Regions from separate parts of the Homo sapiens genome. Here regions 2, 3, 4 and 5 are each linked to region 1. The links are contacts of gene promoters, found by promoter capture Hi-C in blood cells and fetal thymus (Javierre and others, 2016). All regions are on one chromosome and are shown on one strand. Each heading gives the region's core, a stretch centred on a gene start or on the middle of the fragment in contact. The rest is flanking DNA. Distances are from core to core; before and after follow the strand shown. Region 1 holds the start of DPAGT1 (dolichyl-phosphate N-acetylglucosaminephosphotransferase 1). Region 2 holds the start of RNF26 (ring finger protein 26). Region 3 holds the start of MCAM (melanoma cell adhesion molecule). Region 4 overlaps CBL (Cbl proto-oncogene). Region 5 overlaps CBL (Cbl proto-oncogene).

Evidence for each region. The method cuts DNA at HindIII sites, captures the fragments that hold promoters and counts their contacts. A CHiCAGO score of 5 or more calls a contact.
Region 2: a contact is called between the fragment with the promoter of RNF26 here and the fragment with the promoter of DPAGT1 in region 1, in 13 of 17 cell types (megakaryocytes, endothelial precursors, naive CD4 T cells and 10 more). The highest score is 13.7, in megakaryocytes.
Region 3: the fragment with the promoter of MCAM here is called in contact with the fragment with the promoter of DPAGT1 in region 1 in 15 of 17 cell types (endothelial precursors, megakaryocytes, fetal thymus and 12 more); the score reaches 18.4 in endothelial precursors.
Region 4: a contact is called between a fragment that was not itself captured here and the fragment with the promoter of DPAGT1 in region 1, in 1 of 17 cell types (megakaryocytes). The highest score is 5.0, in megakaryocytes.
Region 5: a fragment that was not itself captured here is called in contact with the fragment with the promoter of DPAGT1 in region 1 in 2 of 17 cell types (endothelial precursors and megakaryocytes); the score reaches 6.6 in endothelial precursors.

Annotation. Positions count from the first base shown.
Region 1 is chr11:119,100,603-119,103,302 of GRCh38, reverse strand. DPAGT1 (dolichyl-phosphate N-acetylglucosaminephosphotransferase 1) reads left to right here and starts at 1,450. Exons shown (of 9, transcript NM_001382.4): 1 at 1,450-1,808; 2 at 2,165-2,285; 3 at 2,460-2,673. The coding sequence starts at 1,648. It also overlaps a transcript of C2CD2L not described here. RefSeq lists enhancers at 182-894, 1,106-1,415, 598-1,797, 1,609-2,322. The HindIII fragment of the contact is 9,998 bases long and covers 1,082-2,700 here.
Region 2 is chr11:119,333,193-119,335,892 of GRCh38, reverse strand. RNF26 (ring finger protein 26) reads right to left here and starts at 1,366. Exons shown (of 1, transcript NM_032015.5): 1 at 1-1,366. The coding sequence starts at 770. RefSeq lists an enhancer at 833-1,724. The HindIII fragment of the contact is 9,565 bases long and covers 1-2,700 here.
Region 3 is chr11:119,315,844-119,318,543 of GRCh38, reverse strand. MCAM (melanoma cell adhesion molecule) reads left to right here and starts at 1,414. Exons shown (of 16, transcript NM_006500.3): 1 at 1,414-1,509. The coding sequence starts at 1,443. RefSeq lists a silencer at 1,076-1,135. The HindIII fragment of the contact is 17,882 bases long and covers 1-2,700 here.
Region 4 is chr11:119,278,552-119,281,251 of GRCh38, reverse strand. It overlaps CBL (Cbl proto-oncogene), which reads right to left. Exons shown (of 16, transcript NM_005188.4): 9 at 2,539-2,700. Among named protein-coding and RNA genes, the nearest start is that of MIR6756, 33 kb to the left of the region's middle. The HindIII fragment of the contact is 3,919 bases long and covers 1-2,700 here.
Region 5 is chr11:119,296,731-119,299,430 of GRCh38, reverse strand. It overlaps CBL (Cbl proto-oncogene), which reads right to left. Exons shown (of 16, transcript NM_005188.4): 13 at 2,397-2,513; 14 at 1,950-2,047; 15 at 891-1,073. Among named protein-coding and RNA genes, the nearest start is that of MIR6756, 15 kb to the left of the region's middle. The HindIII fragment of the contact is 3,184 bases long and covers 1-2,700 here.

The sequences.
Region 1 (2,700 bases), core at 201-2,700:
TTGGAGTCCTTTCCCTAACTCACTGGTGGTGACTTCCTCTCTGACAAATGGAAATCATTTGCCGCCTAAGAGCCTGTCGGGGAATGAAAGGTAATAAAGATGCTGGTGAACTGGCTGGGCGTGGTGGCTCACGCCTGTACTCCCAGCATTTTGGGAGGCCAAGGCGGGCAGATCACCTGAGGTCGGGAGTCCCAAACCAGCCTGACCAACATAGGGAAATCCCGTCTCTACTAAAAATACAAAATTAGCCGGGCGTGGTGGCGCATGCCTGTAATTCCAGCTACTGCCTGTAATCCCAGCTACTCGGGAGGCTGAGGCAGGAGAATCTCTTGAACCTGGGAGGTGGAGGTTTCGGTGAGCCGAGATCGCGCCATTGCACTCCAGCCTGGGCAACAAGAGCGAAACTCTGTCTCAAAAAAAAAAAAAAAAAAAAAAAAAAAAAGCTGGTGAATTGTTGTTTGCAGGGGAACAGGCCAAGCAAAATGCACAGCAACCTGCAGGAGGCCAAGCAAAATGCACAGTGACCTACAGGAAGAAACCTGACTGGGAGTTCCTCAGACTCACAGGAAATCAGTTGTGGGTCTGATTCCTCTCCCTCCTCAGCTCTTTCCAGAGCCTCAGCCTGGAAATCTCCATCTCCTCCTTGTGGGAGCTAGGTACAATGCAGTGATCCACGGCCAAGCTGAAGTCTCGAGTTAAATCCAAGACCTGAGGGTACTCCCAATCCCTCAGTGAAGTGCTGCGCTGGGTTGCCGGGCAACTAACTGCTACAGCTGGGGCAGAAGGTGGGTGGGATGCTGAGAAAAAAATACCAGAATCGAGGACAAGAAAAACAGAGTGGGAGGGGCTTTTCAAGGATCTACGCTTTAGAATTTACACCATCCTTCCAAATCGTAGCTTTGTTTCCGGGAACTGAGTTGTGTTTACCTTGGCTTCCGACTATGTTGGCAACAGGTTTCCTGCAAGAAACAGGCGCGTCTCCACACCCTCGTCCCTCCTCCCCACCCCCTGCCTTTCAATAGCCATCTTCCTGGAGCCGGAGGCATCCCAGATTAAGGGAGAGGTACGGGCCCTTTAAGCTTGACCTATGGAGGCGGACGGAGCTAAAACTGACGTGGAACCGGAATGTGAGCGGTGTCAGACACGTGGTACAAGGAGGCATTCATCTTGGAACCGGGCAATTGGCATTTCCGCTCTGGGTAGTACATCTTTAACATAATGTTAGGGAAGTATCCGTTCTTGGCTGCCTTTCTTTAATTGCGTTTCCAGTACTCTCTCGGTGATTCTACTCTTGAACATAGGATGAAATTTGGAATCACACTTCTCTTCCACTTCCATCCCCACCCTCTAATGCCCATATTAAAAATGGCGGCCGCCGCCTTCCGCAGTAATGGTTGTTCAGCGAACAAGATCCGGGCGGAAACAGTAGATAGGCGGGTGCAGCGGGGCAGAACATAGGTTGCCTTAGAGAGGTTCCCCGGTGTCCCGACGGCGGCTCAAGTCAGAGTTGCTGGGTTTTGCTCAGATTGGTGTGGGAAGAGCCTGCCTGTGGGGAGCGGCCACTCCATACTGCTGAGGCCTCAGGACTGCTGCTCAGCTTGCCCGTTACCTGAAGAGGCGGCGGAGCCGGGCCCCTGACCGGTCACCATGTGGGCCTTCTCGGAATTGCCCATGCCGCTGCTGATCAATTTGATCGTCTCGCTGCTGGGATTTGTGGCCACAGTCACCCTCATCCCGGCCTTCCGGGGCCACTTCATTGCTGCGCGCCTCTGTGGTCAGGACCTCAACAAAACCAGCCGACAGCAGATGTGAGCAGCGGCACACGGGTCCGGGCAGGGGGCAAGGGCTAAGGAAGGAGTGGCTAGGGCAGGGGCGGGAACCGGGGTGCTTGACCACACGTGAAGACTCAGAACTAACCCAGGCAGCCTGGAACTCGGAGAGGTGATGAGCAGAACTTACTCGCATTGGGGAAAGGATGGGTAGGGACCCTTGGGTATATCTGGGACTCTGGCAGTGGTGCTTTCCTCCCTCCGCCCCCCTCACCACTTACCAGAATAAAAAACCGGGAATGAGAAGACCACTTTGGGTTACTGTAACACCTGCACTAGTGAGTGACCACGCCCCCTTTCCTCTTCCCCCTCGCCCCCTTGCTGCTGGGCCACAGCCCAGAATCCCAGGGAGTGATCAGCGGTGCTGTTTTCCTTATCATCCTCTTCTGCTTCATCCCTTTCCCCTTCCTGAACTGCTTTGTGAAGGAGCAGTGTAAGGCATTCCCCCACCATGAAGTAAGTGGGTTCGTGGGGGTGATTGCCTGTGGCTGGGACCTGGGAGGTACCTGAGAGAACTGGGGTTATTTGGGCTTGTGGGGAGGGGCTAAGAAATTATCAGAAAAGACAGGAATTCTTAAAAGGTGGAATGGGAGCAGGCTTGAGTCATGGACCTGCCCGAGCCTCCCCCAGTTTGTGGCCCTGATAGGTGCCCTCCTTGCCATCTGCTGCATGATCTTCCTGGGCTTTGCGGATGATGTACTGAATCTGCGCTGGCGCCATAAGCTGCTGCTACCTACAGCTGCCTCACTACCTCTCCTCATGGTCTATTTCACCAACTTTGGCAACACGACCATTGTGGTGCCCAAGCCCTTCCGCCCGATACTTGGCCTGCATCTGGACTTGGGTAGGTAGTCCTACCACTGCTGCCCCT
Region 2 (2,700 bases), core at 117-2,616, 230 kb before region 1:
GCCTGGGTAGCCAGCCTCAGGGTGAAGTCCGGATGCAACACAGTCACCGTCACTGCCAGCACACAAGCTAGCAACACCAAGCCAGTGAGATTGACAAGCACAAAGCTGGCCAGGAGGCGGGCAGCTGAGGCCAGCAGCTCCAGGGCTAGTTGGCAGGGTGTCCAAAGGAGGATGGCCATGGCCACAGCACTGCTGGAAATGTGGGCTAGGAAGGCAGCCACTACGTCCGTCATCCTCCACAGAGGCCCGGTCACTGCATCCCACAGGGCCAGCACCAGGGAAAAGAGGTTCTGAGTGCCGATGAGGCAGATGTTGACCAGGCTGTTGATCACATAAGCCACCAGGCTCATGGCAATGGCACAGATGTCACAGGCCTGGCGCAGCAAAGCATGGCCACTGGAGACCACATTGAGGACGCCCCGGTGCAGTATCTCCCTGCTCCGCAGTGCCCCATGAGAGGCCAGGTGCCCCAGGAGCTTTAGGCTCTCTAGGCCAGAGCAGCAGCTATACAGCAGAGTACACAAGGCCTGCAAGCCCCCACATGTGAACCGGACCACGGCTTCGATCAAGGCCAGCAATGAAAGCAAGACTCCGCGGCCCAAGTGCAGAAGACTAGTCAGTACCGTGTGCGGCAGGTTGTAGACGAAGGCCAGGAGCCAGGCCAGGGAAGCCAGGAGGGAGGACACCAGCAGGAAGTTGAGGTCCAACACCAAGGTCAGCACGTCCAGCACCAGGCCCAACCCATTCACTACCAGGTACACTGCCTCCATGATAGGGCTATGGAAGTTAGTCCAAAACAAAGTCTGGCTCCTCGGTTGGGGGGTTGTCAAGGTTGTCAATATTTTAGGGGGTCTGGGATTAATTTGGAAGGAAAATGAGCAGTCTCCAACCCAGGGGGTACCAAGAATCTGAGGAAGAAGTGGGTAAGACGGAAGTGGAGTCTTGGTAGAGGGAAAGGTGGCCAGGTGCCAGTCCAAGAGTCCAGGTTTTGAAGATGGGCTGTTTGGGAGGGAAGAGGCCAAACATCTCTAAAGCGAAGGCGAGCCCAGGCCGTAGGAGCGACCTCAGCTTTGGATGCCTGGTGTGGCGAACCACGGCCGGGCAACGGGTCAGACCGGGAGGAGACGAGGAACGGATGGAATGGGATCGGATCGGATCGGGTCGCGTCGGGTCGGGCCGGGGCCGGGTGGGGTCGATGTAAGCTGGGCGCAGGCTCTCAGTCCAGCTACGCAGGTGCCCCTGTCCCCGCCCGGCCCCCGTCTTCCCGCTAGCGGCGCTTTGCACCCAAAAGGGGAGTGGGAGAGGCAGCCAGCTTCAGCAAACCCCAAGCGCAGCCCCTACTCCGCTGGGCGCCGCCATCTTGTGTGCAAAGGGGTGGAGCCAGAGGCGTGACGAGGAGGGAGGGACGACAAACTCCAGCCAATCGGTGAAGGCCAACCACAAAAACGTCGATCACTCATTGGTCCGTTTGAATGGCGCCCGAACGTATTTACTTTCCAAAGGGAAGGAGAGGCGACAGATTAAATCCCCTCCCCCTTTAGGCGGGGATTGGTTCGTTGGCGGGCAGCGTCGAAATACGCTCTCCTAGCCCCACCCTCTAAAAGAGCAGGGTCTTGGACTCCCCTCAATTTGGGAGCTGTTCTTTCTCCCGGCCTCTGAACGCGAGGTTTTTTTTTTGGCTTGGGTCGGAGGTCACTGCCTCTGGGCTGGGCTTTGGAATAGCACCGCCTTCGCAGCCTGCCCAGATCCGTCTCCTCATTCTCTTCTATTTATTCATCTATTCTATCATTTATTGAACTCCTACAGTGCATTGAGGATACAAAAAAATTTTAAGACAGTGCCTGCTGTTCACAAGGGAAAGCAGATTATTACAGGGGATTCCCAAACTGCTATTCCAAACTTTCCTCACCAGGTTTTTCAACATCTCGGAAGATTACTTCATTGTCATTGAGAAAAAGGGGCTACAGATTTAGAAACCGCTCAGCTTCCTACCCTGGGCCTTCCTACCCTAGAGTGCAGTGGCGCGATCTCGGCTCACTGCAACCTCTGCCTCCCGGGTTCAAGCGATTCTCCTGCCTCAGCCTCCCGGGTAGTACAGGTGCCCACCACCTCACCCGGCTAATTTTTGTATTTTTAGTAGAGACGAGGTTTCACCATGTTGGCCAGGCTGGCCTCGAACTCCTGAACCTCGTGATCCACCCGCCTCGGCCTCCCAAAGTGCTGAGATTACAGGCGTGAGCCACCAAGCCCGGCCCTGCCCTTTTCTTTAATACTCAAACAATAGTCAAAATATATTTGAAACCCCATCCCAAATATATTGGGAATCCTGGCGTTTTCTACTAACTCCAAGGATGCTTAGCAGACTCCTAGTGGACTTATCTTTCCCCTGGTCACCTTTGCTGAATTTCCTACTTGAGTTGAATTCTCCATCTCCACTCCTGGGCTCCTGAAAGTGTCCGTCCTCCTTCAGTCTGCCCTGAACACTGCCTCAGAGTCCTTCATTCTCCAAAGCATCACTGATAAGAAGCTGAGGTGTGCAGCAAACCTTTACTGAGGCCTTGGGATCGTGGTAGGGGTACGCTATAGTGCAGAGGAAGGACTGCAGTCGCTGAAACTCCTCTGGCTTCTTCCTACCCTTTCTCTCTCCCTGCTCTCAGGCCCTGGCCAGGTTATGGTTTGTTGTGTTGTGATGTGTTGCTG
Region 3 (2,700 bases), core at 165-2,664, 220 kb before region 1:
AGGCCCCTGGCCCGGTGGGCCTGGGCTCTGCACAGCCTCTGGCTGGAGACTAATGGCATTGGAGGAGGGGTCGAGAAGGCTCTGAAAGACAAGCCTGGTGTGGTTTTCCAGTCATCTCTGCGTCATCAAAACGCCACCCCGGAGCATGCTCTCAAGTCACCTGGCCATCTCCAGGGTTTGCTGGCTCACCCTCCACCTCCCCCAGCGAGCAAAGGGGTGGCCCCGCTGGGCAACAGACCTCTACCCAAATCCAGGCCCCTATTTGGCACTCCCTGGTGGAGGCGCGCCAGCAGATGTGGACCCCTTTTCTGAGGCCAGGCTGCTGGGGTCAGAGTGAGGCAAGAGCACCTCCCCCTCCCTAGAGCCTTAGTTCAAGAGGCCAGAAGACCCAGGGAGAAGCCGGCGTTTTGGGAGAAGGGGAGCTGCAGAGCTCCCCACCCAAGCAGGTCTGATTTGATTCTTCCCTCAGCTATGGACCCACAATCAATAGGGCTGGGGAAGACATGGGGTGGGGGAAGATCAGCGCTGCCGGGATCCTTTCAATCATCAGGAACAGCAACAGGTTTGCAGGGTCAGGCTGGGGACCCTCGCCCATTAACTCTTTCTTCTCCCTGTTTCTTTCTCTTAGGTGAGGGGAAACTGAGTTCCAGGGTAGGCTCCAGAGTGAAGAGGGAAGAAACATGATTCTCAAGGCCCAGGTCTGGACAAGTGTGAACACCTTGGGCCTGCGAATTCAGCCCCCTCCTTCCTTTCTCTGGTCAAAGGCTAGACTTGCAGGAGCTTGCGTTTGAAGGGACAGCCCAGAAGGCATCGTCTGCACTCCCCATACAGGTACTTCTGGGTCTGTGGGACTGGCGCAGGGTTCTTCTCCCAAAGCTGCCAGCACTGAGGCTGAGGCAGTGTCAGGCCGGCGGCAGCGGCAGTGGTGCAATCGTTCTGGGAAGCGATAGAGGCCGGCCTGAATTCTCTGTGGCAAGGGAGGGGAGCCCAAGTGGGAGGCCCCTTGGGGACACCGAGGACCAGGTCCGCTACTGCTCCTCCCCCAGGAGGTCCCCTAGGGGCTACATTGGCTGGCAGGGGCTGAGCAGCGGTGAGCCTGGCTGGCTTCGACCCGGGGCGACTCCGGGCATCCGGGACAGCTTCTCCTCGCTGCCACCTCGGCCAGTCAGACCCCGAGACACCTGTCACTACCCCCTCAGCCTTCCCAAGCCAGGAGCCTGGGAGTCCGGCTCTGGCCTACCTCCGGCAGCGCTCCTAGGCGCAGCTCCCGGGCTGGCGGCGCCGGGGCCCGCCCCCTAGGGCTGCGGCGCGCGGGGCGGGGGCTGGGGGCTGCGCGGGGCGGGGCGGGCCCGGGCGCTCCGGGCCCCCTCCCCCGCCCCCCTGACGTCAGCCCCCGGCAGCCTCGAGCTGCTCACTTGGCTCTCGCCCTCCGGCCGGGAAGCATGGGGCTTCCCAGGCTGGTCTGCGCCTTCTTGCTCGCCGCCTGCTGCTGCTGTCCTCGCGTCGCGGGTGAGTTCGCTCGCAGGGGGGCCGCGCCCCGGCTAGGGGTCTGCGGTGGAGCGTGCCAGGGAGCAGAGCCAGCGGCGCGGCGGGGTCGGGGCGTTGCGTCTGGGAGGACGAGCCTCCTCCCTGGGTCCCCGATCCCCGGGCGCCTTGCGCGCGAGCAACTCTTCTTTGCAGCCAGTTTGCAGCCGGGATTCTAGAGTATCCCGGGAGCAGCACTCGGAAGGCGGGGAGGAGGCTGCTTCTGGGAACGAGAAGGGGTGGAGCTCAGCCTTTCGGGGTGCTGGGGGGTGGGTGGTCCCTGAGGTGCTCACTCTGGGGGCCCGCAATTGAAGCCGGGCAGGAGGCGCAGCTGGGGCGCATCCTCAAAGCCTGAATTCCGCGCCCGCCTGTTGCTGGAAAAGGCAGCTTCCTTCGCTGGAGGGGGTGCGCCGACCCACCCCTTCCCCCTTCTGCCTGGGCATCACGCCAGGCTGGAGGTGAGCGAGAGCGGGAGGTTCGGCGGCTCCCGCCCGAGCTGGGCGTTGGCAGGGGTTGCGGGGCGGTGTGGGTCGCCTCGCGCCTCCCCGAGTGATGGGATCATAGGGGACAGAGATGAGGGATGGAGGATTCCCATACTGGAAGCGCCCGCTGGCTTATTTTGGGGACCACATTCAGGTGGGAAGTGCGCCCGGGCACCTCGGAGCGTTTCTCCGGATCCGCCTGGTAGCAGGGCGCTCTCGGGTCCACGCTGCCCTTGTATGGCCCGCAGCGGTGTCGCGTGTTTCTCTTGGCTCCCATTCCGCCGTCCCAGCCGCTGTCCGGCTGGGGAAGGGGAGGGCTAGGCAATACCCAGCTCGCTGGCCTCATGCCCAGTGCCAACCATGTCCCTGGGGTATTCCAGGCTACTGCCTCCCAGGCTGACTTTATTTCTGGGGAAAGGGCTAAATCGGGCTCCACAGTTGCAGCCGGTCCAGCTCCACCCTGCCCTGCTCTTCTAGCTCTGGGAGGAGTCAGGGGTCTGAGGCTCTGGGTTGGAGACCCCACCTTCCACCTGCCCTCCTTGTCCGAGAGCCAAGGTAACAACCCAGGCATCCCAGAGCCCAGGCAGATGGTGTCGAGTGACATCACCTCCTCACAGGGCTGGCAGCACGCTGGCACCACTGACGTCACTCCTGCCCACTGCCTGGCCCTTGCCCTGACCCCTGGGGGAGACTC
Region 4 (2,700 bases), core at 159-2,658, 180 kb before region 1:
AACATGGGAACCAAGGTACTCCAACAGAGGAGAGGCAATGAAGTCCCATGAGGATGGCGAGGGGACACCTCAGGGTGACAAGTAGTGTGGCACAGGAGTAACTGGAGCAGACTGGAGCGGAACACAGATGACTCCTATTTCCTACAAAGCAGTACACGGTATCACATACTACTATACTAACAGATTTTATTTCATAGAAACTATATTGAGAGGATGTTTGAGAGTATGATATGATTTGGTAGTGACAGGTACAAACTGAAAACTAAGAAAATAAAAATAATTATACCAGGAAAAGCAGAAAGTTGTATAAGAAAGCAAAAGTAATTATTGTATAGTATGTTACTTGGCACAGTAAGGAGTGAAATCATGTAAACACTAGTACTAAGCCAAATTCAAATAACTGTAGTGGGAGGATATGGAGTAGGGAGGAGGGAGATATAAGAGACCTAAACCCTCTCCCACAACATCTGAGGTGAAGAGATCAAGAATCCAGAAAAAGCAGTATAAGCACATGGTTAAGAAACACAGAGGTAGTAAACAGTTTCAAGAATTAAAACTCTGAACGAGGGGACAGAGAGGTGCTGGAGGGGGCAGAGGCAGGGAACCAATGTTTTTGTAAGTTTTTTTTAGCAATTCTTTTAAACCTTAAAAAAAATCCATGTGCATTCACCAACTATAAGTAGATTCAGTATATTAAAAAAAATCAAAATAAAACAACAAACAACATCTACCAGGATGTGAAGAAACAGGCATTCTCATTCTTTTCCATACCTTCAAGAGTGATTTCAAGACCAAAAAAGGGGGATAAACTTTAATAACTAACCAAAAGTTAAATATTTTCACTCAAATTATTTTACTCATACAAAATATATAATGAACTATAAAGTACAAGGAATAAAACATCCATATACTTACCTACCATCCAGCTAAAAAACAAAATACCATTATCACTGTGATATTCCCATAAGCCCCTCTGTTAATTATAACCTCCCCTCTATCACAGTTGAAATACACACTCCCTTATGCAGCAATCCCACTGCTAGCCTAGACAGACTTGTAAAAGCAGGCCAATATACGTAAGCCTGCAAACAATATGAATGTTCATTAAAAGGAAGACAAAATAAATTATGGAATGGCCAAATGACAAAATACATGAGGCTGGTTTTTTTTCTGTTTACATTTCTACATGGCTAGGGAAAGTGTGTTCCTTTACTTCTTTCCTCTAAACTCCTATCCGACTTATAGTGTACCCAACAATTTGGAACAATGTTCACTGTCTGCCTTGTGTTGAAGTGTTTCACCTGCACATATGTCCTTTTCCTAAATAAAACAATTAGCTCCTTGAAAGCCTTGTCTTAGACTTCTTATCCCATATAGCACTCAACCATCTAGCACAACAAACACTTTGAAAAAGTAATATGCATTAATTGTAAAAAATTCAAATATTCCACAGAATTTAAGTGCTCTGAATTCCTATCCTCAGAAATAACAGTGATTAGTTTGGTATGTAGTCATCCAGTTTTTCTACGTATATGCTTAAAAAAATTTTTTTACAGAAATAAGTCACACTACACATTGTATACAATTACTATTTATTTATGAGACAGGGTCTCGCTCTGTCACCCAACCTAGAGTGCAGTGGTACAATCACAACTCACTCCCGCCTTGAATTCCTGGGATCAAGCAATCCTCCCGTCTCAGTCTCCAGACTAGTTAGAACTACAGGCGTACACCATCATGCCCAGCTATTTTTTTTTTTAGGGGGGGGCATGGGGGCAGTGGTGGTAAAGATACGGTCTTGCTATGTCGAATTGCTGGGCTCAACTGATCCTCCAGCCTTGGCCTCCAGAGTAGTTAGAACTACAGGTGCACAACACCATACCCAGCTTTTTTTTGTTTTGTTTTGGAGTCAGGGGTAGAGATAGGGTCTCACTATATTGCCAAGGCTGGCCTCAAACTGGGCTCAACTGATCCTCCAGCCTCAACGTCCCAAAGTACTGGGATTATAGGCATGAGCTATGGGCATGCCCAGCCCCAACCTTCTAATGCCAAGACTCCATTAAAATAAAAAAAAAAAAAGGGAACAGAACTTATTCTAGTTGCATTAGCAAAAGAGGGTCCAGTTCTTTTATTTCTCCCTCATATTCTCCACCAACAGATATGAATAAAGTCTTAGTCCTAAAAAATACAGACAGTAAGAACATGGGCCTTAAGCTGGAATGCCTGGTCATAGATGCAGCTCACAGATGCTTCAACCTACTAGCTGTGTGGTCTTCGGCAAATTCCTTAACCTCTTTGTGCCTCAGTTTCTTCATCTGTTAAATAAGGATAATAGTAGTATGTACTCATAGGGCTGTAGTAAAGATTGAGTAAAAAACAAGTAAAGTGCTTAACACAATATCTGTCATATAGTAAATGCTCAATAAATATTAGCTATTAATACTACCTATCATTGTAGTTTGGATATCGTTAAGTGTTTTACGGCTTTAGAAGACAACTCACAATGGATTTTGCCAGTCTCCTAAACTGCCATCTTACCTTGGCACCAGCCAATTCCTTCATCATGAAGAGAGTATCATCAGCTCGTTCATCATCATCATCATCATAATTTGGGGAGGGAGCTCCCTCTGCTCCTTGCCTCAACAGGCTGCCACTCCCTCTAGGATCAAACGGATCTACCACGATGGGTTCAGTACCTTT
Region 5 (2,700 bases), core at 86-2,585, 200 kb before region 1:
AAAATGTGCTAATATCAAGATATTACTGACTTCCTGTAAACTGGGTACATGTGCTCTTCAGTCACAAGGCTGGGTTTTACAGGTTCAAGGGTTTTAAGATATAGCCTCCTCATCACAATAAAAACAACCTTCTAAATATACCATGCACCTGTCCTATGAACAATAACCACTGCAATCATAAACATCTGCATCATGCTTTACACTAAGCAACATGTTTGTGCACATGTAATTGTCTGTTTTAATTCTGAGGGGACCAAAGATACTAAACTTCGCCTTCTACAAATAAGGAAAAAGACAGATATAAGTTGCAATGAAGAAGCATTAGCCAAGGCTGAGTGGGGGACATTGCTCGTCTGGGCAAGCGAAGGCTGTATTCTTTTTCACCAGCTGTCTGTCCTGAAGGCTGTCTTCAATTCCAAAGTGACAGCAACTCTGGCTGCTGCCCTACCAGGCAGCCACAGGTGCAAGAAGAGCAGCCTCCAGTAGTCAAGGCCCAACATGGGCTGGCTCCAGGCCCATTCAGTGTGTGTTCCAGAGCTAGCATGCCTTCTTTCCAATGGAACAGAGCCCAGGAAAAAGGAATGTGTGCTCTGAGCCATCAAGCCTAATTACCAGTGTCATAAGGCATACTCAGAGAAACTATAAATCCTACCTACCCCTAACATAAGAAGAGCCAGAGTTTAAGGAATGACCTCTTTTCTAAGTCTGCAAAAATCCTAAAGAGTCTGACTACAGTCTAACTTCCTAACTTGGGACTTTCCTCCCATTTAGACATAATGTTTAGCCTACATACTGACTTACTGTCACCAGAGAAGGTCATCTCCCTTTCAATATAAACATACAGGCCACACTGCCATTCAGGACAAACCCAAAGTAGTCTGGAGACTCACTTGTTGTAGGATCACCATCCAGAGACAACCAGCCAAAGGAGGAGCTGGCATTAGAGATATCTGAGAGAGTTCGGCGGGCCAGCACGGCCGGCACAGGTGGCTTTGGGACATCATACCCATCATCCTCATTTTCTGACTCCTCGGGACCAGTGTTGGCATGGGCTGCGGCCAAATTCCCTTCACCTGGAGAAAAATGAGTGATGTTATCTTCTTCTGACGCACTTCATCTTCTAATACATTTCAATACGGGGCAGCCATTCATTTTTACATGTATGCAATCATTTATCTCATTCAACAGTTACTGATTGTCTACTGTGGGCCAAACACCATGTAAACAGAGATAAAAATAGAAAATAAAATCTGCACCAACACTGCAGCTTTCATTTTTGAACATGCCAAAGGTTATTCTTGACAAGGTTAATAGCCACCGATGCCAATGACTCCAGTGTCATCTCAGATCATTCAATAAACATTTCTATCCACATTCCACCTTGGAAGATCAGCAAAGGATCCTGTGAGAGCAGGCTTCTTGAACTTTCAATCTGGTAGGCTAGTTAACATGGGAATTGAGTGTTCACCACCCCCACATAAAAGAATTTCATCAATGCAATGAGAAAAAAAAGGAGCTTACAGGTCCAGAGTATAGAACACAAATGTCTCTAGGCCCTGGAAGGACAAAGAAAAGCACAAAAGGAACCAGCAGTGTGAGTAGGAAATAAAGGATTGGGGATACTTTACTGCCCATGTCAAAGATATTTTGCCAAAGATTACTGAAAATAATTTTCAGCTTTGTCTGGGCGTGGTGGCTCACGCCTGTAATCTCAGCACTTTGGGAGGGGTGGATCACCTGAGGTCAGGAGTTCAAGGCCAGCCTGGCCAACATAGTGAAACCCCGTCTCTACTAAAAATACAAAAATTAGCCGGGCATGGTGGCACGTACCTGTAGTCCCAGCTACAGAAGAATTTTGAGCTTAGATCAAGCTATCTCAATTGCCAAATATTACATGTTCATTCCTATGACATATCAATGATTTTTAAAGTAGCAGAATGGCAACTTACCAAAGGTGCTGCTCTCGGTGATAGATGGCGCCTGGGACTGAATATTATACATTGCTTCATACGTACAGCTATCAATCTGCTGGTCGCAATCACATGCTCTGAACCAGAAGGAAAGTGCCATAATGATCTTTGGAAATAGAACTGTTATCTATAAACTTATGAAGATTCATCTTCTCGTTTTGCCAATATCACTAATAAATGTTAAAGTTGACTCTTGTGGCAAGTTATAGGTGTATGTGTTTTTGAGGTTCTCATGTTGCTGAGAAAACATAAGTGTAATTACCTACAGCTACAAAAGGCTTAAACCATTAAGGGCTAGATTTATCTTTATCTTTCTGCTTTAATCTGACTGGATAACAGTATGTGCAGGTAGCAAGCCAAGCAGGTGAAGGGTGTCAATTACCCACATAAAGGTATAGGGCCCAAAAAGGGTTGTTGTGAACCTACCGTGAACTCTGGGATGTATCCAAAGGCCGTAGAGGCCTGGAAGAGGGAGTCATGTACTCTGTGTCCTCTTCACCCTCACATTGCTCCCCAGGTGGCAGTTTTGGCACAGGAAGAGGTCTGGAAGATGAAGAATAAAAAATAGAAAAAGAAGTAACAAACCAGTAAACTTTGAAGTATAAAATAAATGGCTTAAAAACAGACATAACTCAAATTGAACAGAGCAAAATACATGTCACCTAGGGAACTATTATTTCTGCTGACCAAGACAAGTAATTAGCAAAAGTACACTAACTAAAAATGTCAC